Linked DNA regions of Homo sapiens: region 2 is linked to region 1. The links are contacts of gene promoters, found by promoter capture Hi-C in blood cells and fetal thymus (Javierre and others, 2016). All regions are on one chromosome and are shown on one strand. Each heading gives the region's core, a stretch centred on a gene start or on the middle of the fragment in contact. The rest is flanking DNA. Distances are from core to core; before and after follow the strand shown. Region 1 holds the start of FOXP3 (forkhead box P3). Region 2 holds the start of GRIPAP1 (GRIP1 associated protein 1).

Region 1 (2,729 bases), core at 21-2,520:
CCCAGCACCAAAGAAAGCGGGACCCACACTCGCCAGCTCTGTGATCTTGGGCAAGTTGCTTGACTACTTATACCTCCGTTTCCCTCATCTGTATAACAGGAATACAATAATGATGAGATGGAGCTCAAGGGGCCATGGTGAGGATTGAACATGATCACTTGTGAGACATGTTCAGCACTGTATCTGACCCATGGAAAATTCAAGATAAACATCAGCTACTGAGATGATGGCGGATATTTGGAATCCTAAATCCTTGGAAACTGGGGCTTTTTGAAGTAAAAGACCCCAAAGGCTGAGGGCCTCAGAAGCATCAGGCCATGATGTTCCTGAAACAAGAGGGTCAGGGTCCCAATGGGCCTCTGGGGTTCATCGTGAGGATGGATGCATTAATATTGGGGACCTGCTAGGGACCTTCCCAGTGGGACAGTGGCTGGGTCAGGGCACTCAAGCCCTAAAACGTGATGAGGCGAGACTTTTCTCTCTTTCCTCATTCAGTAACTGTCAGTAGATTCTGGGAGCCAGGGATTCTCCGACTCTTCAAGTCCATGAATTTTAGGGGATGACAGTGGGCTCTCCGCTTTCTCCTCCATGAAGTAACTTACATGCCCCTCACCCTCTGTGGGAGGGGTGTTGCAGGGGGTGCAGAACTCCCCTCGCCGGGTAGTTCAAGCAATGGGGACCATATCAATTCCATCTATAGGGAAACTGAGGCCTGGAGTAGGGCGAGGCCTCTGGGAACCCAGCCCTATTCTGTCTCTTTCCCTGGCATTTCCCATCCACACATAGAGCTTCAGATTCTCTTTCTTTCCCCAGAGACCCTCAAATATCCTCTCACTCACAGAATGGTGTCTCTGCCTGCCTCGGGTTGGCCCTGTGATTTATTTTAGTTCTTTTCCCTTGTTTTTTTTTTTTCAAACTCTATACACTTTTGTTTTAAAAACTGTGGTTTCTCATGAGCCCTATTATCTCATTGATACCTCTCACCTCTGTGGTGAGGGGAAGAAATCATATTTTCAGATGACTCGTAAAGGGCAAAGAAAAAAACCCAAAATTTCAAAATTTCCGTTTAAGTCTCATAATCAAGAAAAGGAGAAACACAGAGAGAGAGAAAAAAAAAACTATGAGAACCCCTCCCCACCCCGTGATTATCAGCGCACACACTCATCGAAAAAAATTTGGATTATTAGAAGAGAGAGGTCTGCGGCTTCCACACCGTACAGCGTGGTTTTTCTTCTCGGTATAAAAGCAAAGTTGTTTTTGATACGTGACAGTTTCCCACAAGCCAGGCTGATCCTTTTCTGTCAGTCCACTTCACCAAGGTGAGTGTCCCTGCTCTCCCCTACCAGATGTGGGCCCCATTGGAGGAGATGGCAGGGAGGTAGGCACGGCGGGGGGGTCAGGGGCCCTCTGGTACAGTGGGATGTACCCAGCTACCGTGATTCCAGCCAGGTAAGGTCTTTAAAAAAATAATAGAATAAATGGCAGAAGACTTAAAGGTGAAGTACTTAATGCATGGGCAGGGGCAAAAATAAATGAATTCATCAATTGATACGTAGATGGATAGGATTTTTAAAATATGTCAGCTGCCAGTCTTTATGGATTTCAGAGCTTTGAACAACTTGAAATGCTGTCCAGGTGCAACTGAAAATTTCAACTGCATCTCTCTCATCTCTTTGTCTCTTAGCTCTTGATGCCTCTCATCCTTCTCTGTCTCTCTGCTCACCCTGTCTTGCTCTTTTACATGTTTCTCTGCCTCTCTTTCTCCCGCCATCTGTCTGTCGCTACACTCAGACTCTCTTTCCCCGCATCTCTCCTGGCCTCTGACCATCTCCCCTATCTCTGTCTCCTCCATCTTGACCACACTCCATCGATCTCCTTTCCTCCATCTCTCCCGCTCTCTTTTCTTGCCTTCCCCCACCTGCCTTCCCAGCCAGCATCCAGCCTAGAGCTTTGTACACAGCTGGCGTTTAATAATAGTAATGTCGCCGAGGACCTTTACATTTTATGAGAGTGAGCATCAGTTCTGTTCACCCTAGTAGCAGGAGGATTGCAAGGTGCCGGGGCAAGCTGAGCACTTAACTGAACTTTGCTTGTATCGCTTTAGAGGAGACCCTTGGGGCGGGGGGGCAGGGAGCACTTCACACCATTGTCAACCGTAGTTTAGCTGTGTGGACCTACCCCAGGACTGCATGTGTGTGACCAGAGTCCATATTCAGGAAGCAAACAGGTTGTTCAGGGCTGGGGTGAGCTCGATTCTGCAGGCTTAGCACAGCGTTTGGCACAAAGTAAGTGCTCACGAAGTGTTAGCTATTAGTATTTCTGTAACCAAATTAGAATCATGCTATATATTGGTTTTGTTCCTGCTTTATTCAATTAACAGTAGTGTTTTTGAAGCTTACTAAAAATTGTTTGAACACATGATCTTTCATGATGGACAAGACTGTCCTCACATCAGCATGAACTTTGATTGATTTGACCAAGTGCCGATTGTTGGACATTCCGGTTGTTTCTCGTTTTTTTCTATAAACATCCCTGACTGCTTCCTTGGATTCCTGAAAAGGGAGTTGCTGGGGCAAAGGGGGCGTGCATTTTTAAAGTTTATGACCCTCTCTGCTAATTCTCCTTCCAAAAGGTTGTCCTATTTTATGCTCCCTCTACTTAAGCTAACCCTAGGTGAGTATTATTATGTTTTAATTATTTCCCAACATGACAGGTAAGAAAAACACATT
Region 2 (2,729 bases), core at 63-2,562, 260 kb after region 1:
CACCGCAACCTCTGCCTGGCGGGTTCAAGCGATTCTCGTGCCTCAGCCTTCCGAGTAGCTGGGATTACAGGCGCCCACCACCACACCCGGCCAATTTTTGTGTTTTTAGTAGAGATGGGGTTTCACCATGTTGGCCAGGTTAGTCTCGAACTCCTGACCGCAAGTGAACAGCCCTCCTTGGCCTCCCAAAGTGCTGGGATTACAGGCGTGAGCCACCGCGCCCGGCCCTGCTGGAAATATTTTTCCACAGCAGGGAAATCATTAAATTCTACGAAAATAAGAAGGCTGGGCGCGGTGGCTCACGCCTTAATCCCAGCACTCTGGGAGGCCGAGGCGGGCGGACTACCTGAGGTCGGGAGTTCGAGACCGGCCTGACCAATATGGAGAAACCCCGTCTCTACTAAAAAAAAAAAAAAAAATTACCCGGACGAGGTGGCGGGCGCCTGTAATCCCAGCTACTCGGGAGGCTGAGGCAGGAGAATCGCTTGAACTCGCCAAGCGGAGGTTGCTGTGATCGGATATCGTGCCACTGCACTCCAGCCTGGGCAACAAAAGTGAAACTCCGTCTCAAAAAAGAAAAACAACAACAACAACAACAACAAAAACAGAAAGAAAAAAGAAAATAAGAAAAAAACTACACTGAGATACCATTTCTTACTCTCAGATCGGTGAGGGTTATAGTGAATTCTAATACTTGAATGAGCCTGGTGTTTCACCACCCTGGTTTGTTTTTTGTTTTTGTTTTGTTTTAATGTAGCTTTTTCGTTTGATTCACTGTCACTCTTTCCACTCTGCTATTTTTATTGGTGGCTAAGTCCTTTACCTAACGTGACATGCAGTATCATGATAACAAAATAAGTGTCAAACCTTAAAAAAAAAAAAAAAAAAAAAGGCCAAAGGCTTTACAAGAGGTGGGATTCCCCTTTGGGGTCTCCCGGAGGAGGGGCGGGAACAAGACCAGAGCGAAGCTTCCGCTTTCATTTCTATGGTTATTAAGTTACCCATTCTCATTAAAGGAATACCGCGGAAGGGTGATTTTCTGTCGGCAAAGACTTCCCTAGCGACGAGTCCACCCATGAAACGGGGATGTAATAATGTCGTATCACAATGGGTGGCCTAGAAGAGTCCAAAAGCCAATCAGATGACTTACATTCGGGTAGAACGTTGTATTACAGTTCACCTGACTCGTCGGTTTCGTTCTCTTCTCTGCGTCTCCAAAATGCTGCCCTTCGGAATTAGGTTCTACCCCCTCCATTCCTGGCCAGTGGTTTGGTCCGACCTTAATACTGCCAGGAGGCGCGAGCTGCGTCTGCGCAGAAAGCTGGCGGGGGGGTGGGGGGAGGAACATGGCGCAAGCTCTGTCTGAGGAGGAGTTTCAGCGGATGCAGGTGCCGCTCGCGGTGGGAAAGACCACCCGGCTAGGCGACCGGGGGCGGGGTAGCGAGAGGTCGTGCTATCAGCTCTGAGAAGGGGTTGGTTGGGATGGACCCTGAGTTTATGGGGTGGGTCTGGAGAAGGGAAACTGAGGCTCGGAGTGGTGAGACTATTGGATTCCGAGATACTCTGCGGCTTTGAAGGTTGGACTCTGTTAGCATTGTGGGCTGGGAGAGCGCCATTAAGTAGGCGGTACCTTACTCAGACCTGGAGGGGACGAGACTTTTGGGCCCGTGCAGGGGACACCGTCGGCGGGTGATGATAATGGGCTTTGAGGGAAGGAGATCCTGAGAAGGCGAAACCATTTTGTCTGGAGAGGAAGGAAGCGGGTGTTGGGTCGTTTGCGTCATGGTGGTGGGAGCCCTTGAGAGGGCAGAACCATTAGCGGGTGGGAGGTGGTAAGTTTTGGGGGAGATACCACTGTGCCCGGGGATTGGGGAAAGACCCCAGATGTTGTCATTGTTCCTGGGAGGTGGAGATCCTGTGCCATTGGTGGTTGGTAGTGCATCCTAAGAGGGGGCGGCACCATTGGATGATTAAGGGTGATCCCATTAGGCCTGGGGTGAAGAAGGCCATGAATGGGTAATACCATTAATCCCATTAACTGGGGGGAGGACCAGAGGGGTAAAAGATTGATACCTTGGACTACAAGGAGGGAAGATCACTGGGCTTTGGGGAGGTACCCCCACTTGATTCTTTTGGGGGGACTCTGAGATGCAATGAAAGGCCATAGCATTGCACTATGAATGGGCCCTTGTTGAGAGGGTTCCTCACTGGGGGGGGGGTCTGAACAGGGTCCTGCATGGGGAGGGGAGGAACTCTGAGGGAGGACAGGTAATCCAATTGGTCCTTGAATGAGGGAAACCAGCTGTCCCTGTGTGAGGGACACTGAGAATGGAAGGGCGAGTTGATTAACCCATGAATGGGGAAGACCACTGTCATCTGAAAGGGATTCTAAGTGAGTAAGAGTCATCCAACTGGCCTACCCAAGGCCTTGTAGAGGCCTACCCTGAAGGGTGTAGGGCCATTCCCAATGGATCATGACTGGGGAGATCTTGAGGGGAGTGGGAATACCCTTGAATGAGGAACATTGATCCCACTGGGCCATGAATGAGGGAGAACTACTGGGCTTTGTTGGGGGGCAAGTCTCGGGGGGTACAAAGGATATTCCACTTGGACCAGTACTTGGAGAGACAGATCACTGGGTCCTGGAGAGGACAGGAGTAGGAAAGATTCTGTGAAGGCCAAGCCCTCTGACCTTGAGCAGACTACCAGAGAACAGTGAGTGGAGGCTG

What was found. Contacts are between HindIII fragments. The CHiCAGO score rates a contact against its expected background, and 5 or more counts as called.
Region 2: the fragment with the promoter of GRIPAP1 here is called in contact with the fragment with the promoter of FOXP3 in region 1 in 1 of 17 cell types (total CD8 T cells); the score reaches 6.0 in total CD8 T cells.

Annotation. Positions count from the first base shown.
Region 1 is chrX:49,263,251-49,265,979 of GRCh38, reverse strand. It overlaps FOXP3 (forkhead box P3), which reads left to right and starts at 1,270. Exons shown (of 12, transcript NM_014009.4): 1 at 1,270-1,319. The HindIII fragment of the contact is 2,410 bases long and covers 1-2,396 here.
Region 2 is chrX:49,000,847-49,003,575 of GRCh38, reverse strand. It overlaps GRIPAP1 (GRIP1 associated protein 1), which reads left to right and starts at 1,312. Exons shown (of 26, transcript NM_020137.5): 1 at 1,312-1,388. The coding sequence starts at 1,347. RefSeq lists an enhancer at 1,194-1,303. The HindIII fragment of the contact is 9,873 bases long and covers 971-2,729 here.